Regions from separate parts of the Homo sapiens genome. Here regions 1 and 2 are each linked to region 3. The links are contacts of gene promoters, found by promoter capture Hi-C in human tissues and cell types (Jung and others, 2019). All regions are on one chromosome and are shown on one strand. The core of a region is centred on a gene start or on the middle of the fragment in contact, and the rest is flanking DNA. Distances in the headings are between cores, read along the strand shown. Region 1 holds the start of TARBP1 (tRNA guanosine 2 -O-methyltransferase TARBP1). Region 2 holds the start of COA6 (cytochrome c oxidase assembly factor 6). Region 3 overlaps LOC107985365 (a long non-coding RNA gene).

The links. The method cuts DNA at HindIII sites, captures the fragments that hold promoters and counts their contacts. A contact is called where the count stands out against the background at its distance.
Region 1: a contact is called between the fragment with the promoter of TARBP1 here and a fragment that was not itself captured in region 3, in 1 of the 25 tissues and cell types used here (mesendoderm cells).
Region 2: the fragment with the promoter of COA6 here is called in contact with a fragment that was not itself captured in region 3 in 1 of the 25 tissues and cell types used here (H1 embryonic stem cells).

What each region holds. Positions count from the first base shown.
Region 1 is chr1:234,477,601-234,481,794 of GRCh38, reverse strand. It overlaps TARBP1 (tRNA guanosine 2 -O-methyltransferase TARBP1), which reads left to right and starts at 2,616. Exons shown (of 30, transcript NM_005646.4): 1 at 2,616-3,622. The coding sequence starts at 2,692. RefSeq lists silencers at 2,500-2,689, 2,720-3,519. The HindIII fragment of the contact is 15,490 bases long and covers 1-4,194 here.
Region 2 is chr1:234,370,408-234,374,705 of GRCh38, reverse strand. It overlaps COA6 (cytochrome c oxidase assembly factor 6), which reads right to left and starts at 1,250. Exons shown (of 3, transcript NM_001206641.3): 1 at 1,028-1,250; 2 at 317-476. The coding sequence starts at 1,239. COA6-AS1 (COA6 antisense RNA 1) reads left to right here and starts at 1,113. Exons shown (of 2, transcript NR_125961.1): 1 at 1,113-1,283; 2 at 1,496-1,899. RefSeq lists enhancers at 867-1,416, 1,238-2,062. The HindIII fragment of the contact is 13,687 bases long and covers 1-4,298 here.
Region 3 is chr1:234,846,805-234,851,447 of GRCh38, reverse strand. All of the region lies in intron 2 of LOC107985365 (a long non-coding RNA gene), which reads left to right. Among named protein-coding and RNA genes, the nearest start is that of LINC02961, 89 kb to the right of the region's middle. RefSeq lists a silencer at 1,952-2,246. The HindIII fragment of the contact is 3,900 bases long and covers 1,126-4,643 here.

The DNA.
Region 1 (4,194 bases), core at 1,367-3,866, 370 kb after region 3:
TGTTTTTTTGTTTTGTTTTGTTTTGTTTTGTTTTTTGGTATAAGTCATTTTTCAAGATTGAGGTAAACTTTCTTTTTTTTTTTTTTGAGACCAAGTCTCACTCTGTCTCCAGGCTGGAGTGCAGTGGTGTGATCTTGGCTCACTGCAACCTCTGCCTCCTGGGTTCAAGCAATTCTCCTGCCTCAGCCTCCCGAGTAGCTGGGATTACAGGCGTGCACCACCATGCCCAGCTAATTTTTTTGTATTTCAGTAGAGATGGGGTTTCACCATGTTGGCCAGGATGGTCTCAATCTCCTGACCTCATGATCCACCGGCCTCGGCCTCCCAAAGTGCTGGGATTACAGGTGTGAGCCACTGCGCCCGGCTGATTGAGGTAAACTTTCTGCAGAGCGAAATGCATAGATCTTAAGGGTTCAGTTCAAGGAGTCTTGACAAATGTGTAACAACACCCTGATCAACATAAAATATTTTCATCACCCCAGAAAGTTCCCTTGTGCCCAATTCTAGTCAAATCTCTACTCCCTATATGCAACTACTGTTCTCATTTCTATCCTTCAGATTACTTTTGTCTCTTCTTGGATTTCATATAAATGAAATCACGAGGATGTAAACGTTGTGACTGGCTTCCTTTGTTTAACATATTGTTTCTGAGACTTATCCATGTAAAGCGGATTAGCAATTCATTGTCTTATTGCTGGGAGCATTATTATATAGATAGATCACAATTTTTTATTCATTCTTCAATTTGATGCACATGTAGGTTGTTACCTAACACCTACTAGGTTGTTATAAGCTTTTGGCTATAACGAATAATGTTGTCAAAAACATTCTTCTGCAAGCTTTTTTTTTTGAAACATGTTTTCATTTATTTTAGGTAATTACCTGGGGGTGAAATCGCTGAATCATAAAGCAGCTATATTATAACTTTACGAGAAACAGTTTCTAAAGTGACTGTACCGTTTTCATGCCCACCAGTAATGTATGAGAATTCCAGTTGCTCCACACCCTTGGTCTTTGCCGTTTAGTGTTTTCGAGCTTTTACATGTTAGCCATTCTCATCAGTATGAAGTGGTACCTCATTGTGGGTTTAATTTGCATTTCTCTGATGACTAATGATGTTGAACACTTTTCCAAGTGCTTATCATTTGTGTATCTTCGTTTGTTAAGTGCTCAAGACATTTACCCATTTATATTTGTTAGATATATGTTGACAGAAACAATAGTTTTCTGCACATTTTATGTTGAAGGTAATTGATATTTACTGACATGTTAAAAGGGCTTAAAATAGAAACATTTATGCATTTTGTCAATGAAAAACGGAATGACTGAAATATGAAAAAAGTCTTGCCTGTGTAATGTCAGATAACCTTAAAGTCAGATAACTTTATATAAAAATAACTGTAAATTTAAATAACTAATTTTTGTCTTATCCATTATGTTATTATATGTCAAGCTCTTTGAAGTTGGGACCCTGTTTTCTCTATTGACTAAGAGGCAGATCTTTGTGTTTAGTAGCGAAGAAAACCCTATGTCACTGATCTAGTTTGTCTCAAATTGAGCCAGGAACCAAATCCACACCATGCATGCCGAGGTGAGGTTTTCTGTTTCTCTATTTAGCAATGGATGCTGTCAGAAATACAGAAAAGACAGACACAGGGACTATTTTTGAGTTTGCACATGGGAGCACATGCATTGTGCAGGAGGCTCTGCATCCTGGAGTCATCTTGGGCACTTGGCTGTGAGGGCTGGCGTGGGCATCTTGGTTTTAGCTGAATCCTAGCACATTGCTATAGGTACCTCTAAGGCAGGAGAATAGGGCCTGGAGGCAGGGAATCCAAAAACTCCCTAGAACCAAATCAGATAGAAACACTTCAGCTATGACAGGAAATATCCTCTTCATTTACATAGGGAGTACACCAAGTAAATAACTTTGTAACTTCATTTTATCCTCTTCAGTTACATAGTGTGTACACCAAGTAACCAATTGAAACCTCTATAGGTATTTAAACCCCAGAAAATTCTGTAACCAGCCCCCCTTGAGCGGCTTGCTTGGGTCTGCCCCCACCCTGTGGAGTGTACTTTTGCAATAAATCTCTGCTTTTGTGGCTTCATTCTGTCTTTGCTTTGTTTGTGCGCTTTGTCCAATTCTTGGACCTGGACACCCTCCACCGGTAACACTTCTCACTCCTGGCCTTACGTCTAAATCATTCTTGTGTTTTCATGACTTATTTTTAATGCAGATGTCCAGAACCAATTTCAGACCTACTGTGTCAGTCTCTTTGTGGATGGTGCCCATCATGCAACGTTTGGAAAATAATCTAAAGTGATTCTGCTGTGCACCTTCTGTGAACTGGTTTATGCTCACAGGCACGCCTGATTTAGGGTCCTGGGCAGACCAACCTCCAATCAGGAATCGATGAAGCTGGTGTAGATACTACATTAACTTTTAACGAAGGCCTCGTTTCTCCTAAAAATAAGAGACCAGGTGGGTTCTATCTAGGCAGGGTTGGTGGCAGGAACCCAAGGGAAGCTGAGCTGCACCAAGCCGGGCTGGGATCCCCCTCTCTGCGGCCGCGCGCCCGGCTCCGTCGGCGCACGCGCACGTAGGGGCCGGCCGGTCCTGTGCGCACGCATCGCACACGCCGGCGCCTTCCTTTGGGAGCCCGGGCCGGTGGCGCGGGCGCTCGGCAAATGGAGTGGGTGCTCGCGGAAGCGCTGCTCTCGCAGAGCCGGGACCCCCGGGCCCTGCTTGGGGCGCTGTGCCAAGGGGAGGCATCCGCGGAGCGCGTGGAGACGCTGCGCTTCCTTCTGCAGCGGCTCGAGGACGAGGAGGCGCGCGGCAGCGGGGGCGCAGGCGCGCTCCCGGAGGCGGCGCGCGAGGTGGCTGCAGGGTACCTCGTGCCACTGCTGCGGAGCCTGCGCGGACGCCCCGCGGGCGGCCCGGACCCCAGTCTGCAGCCTCGCCACCGCCGGCGCGTGCTGAGGGCGGCGGGCGCGGCCCTGCGCTCGTGCGTCCGCCTGGCCGGGCGTCCGCAGCTGGCGGCCGCGCTGGCTGAGGAGGCGCTGCGCGATCTGCTCGCCGGGTGGCGCGCGCCTGGCGCCGAGGCTGCCGTGGAAGTGCTAGCAGCCGTCGGGCCATGTTTGCGGCCCCGCGAGGACGGGCCGCTACTGGAGCGCGTGGCGGGGACCGCCGTCGCCCTGGCGCTGGGCGGGGGCGGGGACGGGGATGAGGCCGGGCCTGCCGAGGACGCGGCGGCGCTGGTGGCCGGGCGACTGCTGCCAGTGCTGGTCCAATGTGGCGGGGCGGCGCTGCGGGCCGTGTGGGGCGGGCTGGCCGCGCCTGGGGCGTCCCTGGGGTCCGGCCGCGTAGAGGAGAAGCTGCTGGTCCTGAGCGCCCTGGCCGAGAAGCTGTTGCCCGAGCCCGGCGGCGACCGCGCCCGCGGCGCGCGCGAGGCGGGCCCGGACGCCCGGCGCTGCTGGCGCTTCTGGAGGACGGTGCAGGCGGGGCTGGGCCAGGCGGACGCCCTGACGCGCAAGCGAGCGCGCTACCTGCTGCAGAGGGCGGTGGAGGTGTCGGCGGAGCTGGGGGCCGACTGCACCTGCGGGCCCCAGGAAGGAAACGGTACCTGCCTCTTTGCCCCCCAGCCTAGTGCTACCTACTTGGCTGCCCCAGAGGGGAGTCTTCCTGCTTCTAAAAACTAGCTTATCGGGGTCGTCACTCCGATCCATGCAGAATTTGGTTATTCCGCGTTGCTCCCCTAAAGCCTGAAAACCTTTGGAACCCCTTCTCGAGGGTGTTCTTTGAAGTCACAAATCACTGCGGTTGGGAACGTTCTAACCCAGAGCCGGTGGAATACAGCACCCCTGGAATAGTTTAGGAAGATAATGGAGCCCGTGCAAGATTTTACAGACCCAAATCTGCACTATATCATGGTAGATTCAACCCAATAGAAACGGTTGATATCTATCAAGTTGAAAGAAAAATTATTTGTTATTTATCTGTACTGACCAGTGAATTAGTGAATTGAGTGTTGAGTGTTAGAATTAAGCGTCATAGAGGCCATCACACTCTTCTGAAATTTCCCCTGGTAATTAGGAACAGGATTTACTAATATTTGTTAAACATGTTTCTTAAGTCGACCTTTTGAGTGTATTTTTGCCATTGATTTAATAGAATGAATCAGATTTTATTTT
Region 2 (4,298 bases), core at 1-2,500, 470 kb after region 3:
CTGCCCAAGATTAAATACTACCCCTTCAGAAGATCCTGGAAAAGTCTACCAGTGAAATGAACTGGAATTTTTTGGTTACTGTTCATATGTTTGTTGTGTTTTTCGATGCTCTTTAATGTGTCAGTTGACATTCTCCAAAGATCTAGCTGATGTAAGTGCGTCAAATAAGGCTGAATTACCAGGCAAGGTTTTCTCTGCGCCTCAAAGAAACTGTTAATTGACATGCCTCAGAGAGCGCTTCATGTCAGCCTACCACTCACAGTATAAGCTCGATGTATCTTAACAGGGAAGAGAAACACATCAAAGTGTGACTTACCCACTGTTGGGGACAACTTGATTCGAAAGAGCTTCTTAACTTCTTGCATTGAGAAGCATCCTCTAAGTTCTCATCTAAACACTTCCAGTACTCATCCCGGGCCCCCCAGCAGACCTGTCTTTCCTTCATAGATGGGGCTGCCATTCCTACTGCGATGAAGCTGTTGGCCAAAATAATATTTGAGATTAACAATGAACTTTGTAATCTGAAGAGAAGATAAGGAAAGAGGAAAACCGTCAATCTCCTCTTCCTTTAAAACTAAAAAAAAAAAAAAAAACAAAAACAAAACAAAACCATGCTTAGGGATTTTGATGAGGCAACTGAACCCAATCAGTTCTCAGTGGCAGCATAAGGCCACCCGCTCTTGAGGCTTATCTCACACTGTGTGATTTGATCCCTGCTGGGGCGGCAGCGTGGGCTCAGAAAGCCCGGCTGAGAACTGTGGTTCTGTCCCAGTCGCTTAGGGCAGCTCATTTATTCTCTCCGAGCCCGTTTCCCACCAGTAAAGCGGGGACAGCAGTGCCTAGTTTACAGGGTTACTGTTCGAACCTAAGCGCTGTAGAAACAGGTGTGTGGGGGCCACAATCACCAAGCAGGCGATTGGAGTGCCACCCCGTTTTGCACAAGAGGAACCCGCGGCTCGGGGACAGTAAGGGACCTCCCGGGCCCATAGTCCACGCGCGCCCCACCCGGACCCATCAGCAAGCCGACCTCTCTGCCCGCCCACGTCCGGCTTCCTTTCGATGTCGACGGGAGGAAACTGTCACGCAGGCCACCAACCGGCGGTGGAGGGCGCGGTGCCGAGTCCTGCCACTGCAGGGTCGCCCCGCTGGCTCAAGCTCTAGAAGCGTAGACCTCCCCAGCCGCAAAAAGCAACTCACGCGGCGAAACCGCGGACTCTTTTGACCCTTCCGAGCTACCATTTACTTTCCATAGAGGGGCGGGACTTCCTGTTTCGCTTTTATCTGTAAGACCGACTTCCGGCCTTCAAGGGCAAGAGGGGTATATACGTATATATCATCGCACGGTGTGTCCCGGAAGGCTTGATATGCTAGTCCCGCGGGACAAGGCGAGCCGAGGAGTTTGTGTGGAAGTTTGCATCTGAGAGTGCGAGAGCTGGACGGAGTGTTACAGAGCCGCGATGCCTTCTCGTTTTGTTTTGTTTTGTTTTTGATACAGTGTCTCGCTCTTCCGCCCAGTCTCGAGTGCAGTGGTGAGAACACGGCTTACTGCAGCCTCAAAATCCTGGACCCAAAAGATCCTCCCACCTCAGCCTGCCTCCCAGGTAGCTGGGACTACAGGCGCACAACACCATCGCTTCTTGGATTAAAAGAAAAGGATGAAACGGGCCCCAGAAAGAGGCGGTGACGTCCCAGAACCCATGGCAGGGGAGTTGGGAAAATAAATATTTGTATTGTTTTAATCTCCCTTGTGGCTTTTTTTAACCCCCGAAACAGCAAGGTATTTTTAAAAGGGATGAAGAGAGTTGCTTCAAATGTTTTGAGACGTTGTTATTTTTAATATGTGAGTGAATATCTTAGAAACAAAATGAACAAGAAATAAAAATTTTAGAAAATATATGAGTTAATCTCTCAGCAGAGTCTTTATTAAAAAGCATGTTTATGGTCAGTCATCTGGCACCCCGTTCTCTTAATAGATCCCATCTGCTCCATCATCTAGTTCTAAAACATTTATATAAGATGCAATTTACAATTTTGCACTCAGTGCAGTTTGATCCATTCCAAATTCAATATATGCAGACTTTTCCGGGTGGCGATGTGAGGCTACGTACCACCAAATATGTGTTCTGCAATATAGAAAGTATTTCCCCCATAGTTAATGCACTCTCATAGTGGAGTTACTTTAGCTTTACCAGAGCCACCCCCTTCTTTTACATCATGTCTATTGACGTCAGTTTACATATAGATATCTTTTAAATATGACTGATGGGATATAAAAGGAATGAAAGGAAAGAGTCTTAGATGACTTCTGAGTCTAAAAAGGAAATGTGTTTTAAATTTAAAATTTATAAGTACCTAATGAAAAATACATATGAAACAAAGTGAAGTGACAGAATTACAAAGAAAAAAAATGCCTGGTCATATTGGGTAATTTTAACAGGACTTTCTCACTAATCGTTAAGACTAGCAAGAGAAAAGTTAAGGATATAGGAAACGTGAATAACATGATGTAAAAATGACGCAATTAATATGTACAGAACAACACGACCAAAATCAGAATGTACAGTTTTTTGAAAGCAGACACATCACCACAGTCAACCACATACTTAGTTATAAAGCAACTCAAGAAATTTTGAAAATTGAAATAATTGTCATTTTTTACTACAGTGCATTTAAGATAGAAATCAATAAAGAACTGTAAAAACAAGCCTGAATAACACAGAGACAGAGTCAATGGTATTGAGAAAATATTTTGAACTGAACCATAAAATAACAATAGCAACACCTGTGGGATGAAACTGAAGCAGCACTTACAGGGACATTTATAGCCATAAGTAAGTGTATTAGAAGAGTCTGAAAAGTCTTGAGCTGAAAATCCCTTTTCAAGAAGTTAGAAAAAGGACAGCAAAATAAGACAGAAAATAGAAGGACAGAAATAATGTTAAGAGCAGAAATTAACGAAATGGAAAATAAAAGCAGTGGTGTACCAGAGCCAGCCTGTACTGGCATAGGAGAGCCAATTGTGCACACCTCTTGGCAACTCCATGATCAATAACATCAAATAAGTAGCTTGAAGTCACCCACGATGGGACTGTTTACACTATGGAACTCAACAAACAAGCCAGGATTTTGTTTTATGTTTGGAGCCAATTCAAATAAGTAGCTTGAAGTCAACCATGATGGGACTGTTTACACTATGGAAATCAACAAGCCAGGATTTTATGTTTGGAGCTAACTCACTAGCACACCACAGCATAGAATAGGTTGAAAGAAGCCAAAAGTTGATTTTTTTTGGAAAAGAAAAATTAAAATTGGCAAACATCTAATAGCTATAAAAGGAGGGATGTCAACAATCTTTATCAAGAATGGAAACTAGAAATACTATAGACATCAAAAAAGTTAGATAATCTTGTAAACAATTTAGTGCAAATAAGATTTAGATGACTGTACAAACTTCAAGAAAAACAACTCAAAAGTAGAGAAACTATTACATAATTTGAATGAGTAGTGAAGAATCTTCATACACACAAATCCCAGGTACGTGGCTCCACCAGTAAGTTCCTACAAACTTTGAAATCATTCCATTCTTACTGAATAAGGCTACCATAACTTTTGTACTAATTATAAAATCCCCAAACCTCTGAAACACCACACACTTTGGAACTCATTTGGTGAAAAATACGACTTAAAGTAACATGAGGCTCTTTATAGTTGTTATTATCACTTAGGTGACTGCATATGCTTTTCGGTAGAAATATTAATGTATTTCATTATGGGTACTGTCCCAGTTCTTGTTGAGAATATTATACAATATATGTTGTATGTTTCATACTACCCTTCTAATATTTAAAATAGTCTATATTTCAAACATCTGGCTCCAGGGATTTCAGGTGAGTTATGTGGACCTATATAAGAAAAAATCTTTATGACTTAGGTTAAGAGGAATTTTTAGCCATAAAGGAAAGTCTCAGTAATTATCAAATGATGTGGCCGGGTGCGGTGGCTCACGCCTGTAGTCCCAGCACTTTGGGAGGCTGAGGCAGACGGATCATGAGGTAAGGAGTTCGAGACCAGCCTGGCCAACATGGTGAAACCCCGTCTCTAATAAAGATACAAAAAATTAGCCGGATATGGTGGTGTGTGCCTGTAATCCCAGCTACTCAGGAGGCTGATGCAGGAGAATTGCTTGAACTCAGGAGGCGGAGGTTGCAGTGAGCTGAGATCATGCCATTGCACTCCAGCCTGGGTAACAGGGAGAGACTTCGTCAAAAAAAAAAAAAAAAAAAAAAAAAAAAAGATGT
Region 3 (4,643 bases), core at 1,826-4,325:
TACTTTGTCATCTCCTGTGAATTTCTAAGAAAATGTAATTCTTTTTTTTTTTTTTTGGACAGGGTTTTGCTCTGTTACCCAGGCTGGAGTGCAGTGGCATGATTGTGGCTCACTGTAGCCTCTGGCTCCTGGGCTCCAGCCATCCTTTGGCTTCAGCCTCCTGAGTACTTGGGACCACAGGTGCACCCAACCACACTTGGCTTTTATTTTAATTAAAAAATTTTTTAAATTATTTACTTATTTATTTATTTTGAGATGGCGTCTGGCTCTATTACCAACACTGGAGTGCAGTGGCACGATCTCAGCTTACTGCAACCTCCACCTCTCAGGTTCAAGCGATTCTTGTGCCTCAGCCTTCCGAGTAGCTGGGATTACAGGTGCATGCTACAACTCTCAGCTAATTTTTGTATTTTTTTGCAGAGACAGGGTTTTGCCATGTTGCCCAGGCTGGTCTCGAGCTCCTGACCTCAGGTGAGCCACTCACCTCAGCCTCTCAAAGTGCTGGGATTACAGGTGTGAACCACCATTCCTGAGCTTTTTAAAAAAAATTTATTTTAATTTATTATTTAGTATTTTGTAGAGACAAGGTCTCACTATGTTGACCAGGCTTGTCTACAACTTCTGGCCTCAAGCAATCCTCCTGCCGCAGCCTCCCAAAGTGCTGGGATTATAGGCATGAACCACAGCACCTGGATGAAAATGTAATTCTTACGGCCTTGAGTCTTTGTGTTAAGCTCCTCAAACCGTGTGTTTTAAAGAACTTTTAAAATTTCAGGCTAAAAAATAATAATGACATGTTTGTTCTTGGCAGGCCGGGTGTGTCTGTGCCTATGTATGTAACATGCATATCCTCTATTACTGCAGTGTAAAGATTCACGCAAGTGTCATTAGTTTTACAGTTCTATACAAAGTTTACCAGTTTTAACTCTAGGGTTAGGTTGTTGAAGGCTTGACTGAAGAGTCCTTCCGAATGGCACACTCATGAGCCATTACCAGAAGCTTTTATGGGCAGAGGTGGGCCGATCACTTGAGGCCAGGAGTTTGCGAGCAGCCTGGCCAACATGGCGAAACCCCATCTCTACTAAAAATACAAAAATTAACTGGGCTTGGTAGCACACGCCTGTAGTCTCAGCTATTTGGGAGGCAGAGGCAGGAGAATTACTTGAACCCAGGAGGCGGAGGTTGCAGTGAGCCAAGATTGCGCCACTGCACTCCAGCCTCGGTGACAGAGCGAGACTCCAAAAAAGAAGCTTTGATGGAAGGGAAAACAAGCAGGCATACAAAATGGTCCCCTGAAACACCGCATTTGCAGAGGATGGATTCGAAGTCAAACAGCAGGGACTTTCCTTCTTAAAAATTATGACTCCTGCAAACATGTCCATGGGTTGCTATGCAACAGGCACATCCAGTCAATACAGAGCACATAAATTAGCAATAAACGTGAGGGCGAAATTGCTTTCTGATTTTTTCCACCAGAAACTTCCTGGAAATGTTCAAACACTTCCTGCATATCTGTGCCACGCCTGAAAAAGTGTCCCTCTCTGTTCAGTGGGCACCAGCTCCTAAGAGCGTTTAAAGATCTTGACTTTGAAAGTTTGACTGCTTGTCCTAAGCTGCTCATTCATCCCTGGGTTGCTGTCCTCACCAACTAGACCACGTATGGGAGAAGAGTGAACCAGGTCTCTTCTAGAATGCAATGCCAGGACTTTAAAATTGCTATCCTTTGTCCCCTTTGTGTTCATTATCTTAATGACCCATTACTTACCTCATCTTACCCTCTTCCTCTTATCCTTAGCATTTTTGCAGTGTGCTTACTTTGTCTTTTAATTAGGTCTGATTCATTGGGTAGCCAAGGTGATGCACTCATCCTGCTGAAAAAGAATTCATCCATGTGGTTCATCCAGGGCATCTGGCTAAAACCCAACACACAAACCACTGCTAAACCTCAGCCTTCCTTGCATGGGAAAGCAGCAGAAAGTTCTCTCTCTTTTTTTTTATTTCCACAAAATCTACATCCTCAAAGCACGCAGAGAAGCAAATGCTGGCTAGAAGTGTCATTGTTTACTCAAGACACTGTACAAAAAAAGAGGAAGGAGCAGACGTTTGGCCACCAAAGCAAATCTGAAGGAATCTTCGAAGGAGGAAGAGTCTAAGAATTTAAGAGGAGGCCATGATGACACGACCATTTTTTGCATCTTTAGGCAAGCCCTGATACTTAATGTCCCTTATTTAAGCCTTTTATGCACAAACATCTTGTCACCTCCACATCACAGCTAGTCCCAGCAAGGAGAGAAACTGGCCAAGATAGGCGTTTTCAGGGAGTTTTCTAGGGAAATGAGGAGAAGTGTGAGTAGAAGGAAGGAGACATGCAGGCTTGGTGGACACTCCGGCAATGCTCATGCCAACCCATGTGGGGAGCCCTTTCTGAACTCATCCCTCCAGTCCCCCAAGTACCACTCCTGTTACCATGCCACACAGAACAGAAATCCCAGCTTGGGAAATAGTGTCCTCAACTATTAAAGAATTGATTTTTTTTCAAAGACATCCAGAAGAGGAGACTCCATACCCTCCCATTCCAGTATGAAAATCGTGACTTATATCCAAATAGTCTCTTTCCAAATGCTTATTAATTTTACTTCCTGGGAAATCTCCTCTTTCAACCTAAACTAGGATAGTCGCAGATAGTTCCTATAAAAACTCTCTCTAGATCTACTGCAGACTTGGCTCCCAGAACCAAATACAGACTTGCAGTCATTGTATTCTCTGTCTCTCTCATCTGCCACTTCACCTTGGTGCACCATGTTATCACATCTAACCCCACACAACCTTGGAAAAACTACAGATGAAAAATTTCCATTTTAGTTTTGATATTACAAGCCTGTTTTGAAACTCTGAATTTTTAGTCCTAAAAATGGTACTATCTAATAGATGTTGTGATACTTTTCTGTCTAATGGACCAAGATGGCTGCAAATACAATGCAAATAGACCAATTAACTCCACATTTCCTCAGAAGTCAGGGTAATAGTGAAAAACTGTTTTAATGGATAGAATCCATTATCATCGAGGGCCATAAACTTGAGTCTTTGAAAAAATAATGAATCAGATAGTTTCATACTAATATTGCTCCTTTTTCCTCCCTTTTAAGGTACCTTCTAATATTACCCGAATCTCCTGATAATGAAAGAATTGAACAATTAGATTGATCATGAAAGGTTTTACAGTATCTTTTCCTCATTATACCTATTATAAGGGCCTTGTCTAATTTGAAGGACCTAGATTTTTTAAACTGGTATTATTGTTTCTAGCTGTCTGATTTGTACCAATATTCAGATATCACTGATACTTCTGATGGTGAGTGTTTATCTAGATGTCTTTGAGAAAGGCATTTTTCTTGCCACTGTCTGTTTCTCTCTCCACTCCTTTTTTTAGTACCTATGCTGCTAAAGGGAGCACTATCTACTCCTCTCTTATGTTCAGATCCTTGGTACATGGTGCAAATCACCTGGCTTAACAGATGTTGGCATTTTGGTGACTTTCTCATTCCTTCTTGGGACCATTCTTGCCGGTGCTTGGCTCATCCTTCCCTTCTCATGTACAAAGGACTTGAACACTTTCAGTGGACAAAGTTTATCAAATATGTTTGCATAAACCCCTCTTTCTGTCTTTCAAGCTACAAGACCTAGGTTTCTCTGCTTAACATTTGCTTCATTTTACTAAGCCTGACCACACATTGTATAGAATGCGATTTCCTTGTTTCTGAGTGATACCAGGTCTTCAGGGCCTACATACAAGGCTGGCTACATAATTTGTAAGGCCCAGTGAGAAACAGAACTTCAGAGCTCCTTGTTAAAACATTATTAAGAATTTCAAGCTTGTGACAACAGAGCATCAGACCAAGAGCGGCACCCTGTGTAACTGCCCAAGTCACACCTCCATGGATCCAGCTCTTCATACATGTATAACTTCATATGAGTAACACTAGGCATGATCTGCAACTTAGCCTTAGTTTGTTTCTTTACTATTTTTAGTTTGCAGACTAAGATCATTGCTTATTTCTCAGTGCTTTGAAAATATCCCAGTGACTTCTGACTTCTATTGTTGTCACCGAAAAGTCTGCCATCCAAAAGAAACTATCAAGAGAGTAAATAGACAACCTATAGAATGGGAGAAAATATTTGCAAACTATGCATCTGACAAAGGTTTAATATCCAGCATCTATAAGGAACTTAAATTTATAAGACAAAAACAACCCTATTAAAAAGTGGGCAAAGAACATTAACAGACATTTTTCAAAAGAAGACACACATGCAGTCAACAAGCATATGAAAAAAACTCAACATCACTGGTCATTAGAGAAATGCAAATTGAAACCACAATGAGATACCATCTCATACTGGTCAGAATGGCTATTATCAAAAATAAACAAAAACAGATGCTGGCAAGGTTGCAGAGAAAAGGGAACACTTATACACTGTTGGTAGGAGCGTAAATTAGTTCAACCACTGTGGAAAGCAGTATGGCAATTCCTCAAAGAGCTAAAAACAGAACTACCATTTGACCCAGGAGTCCCATTACTGGGTATATATCTAGAGGAATATAAATCATTCTACAGTAAAGACACATGCACGTGAATGTTCATTGC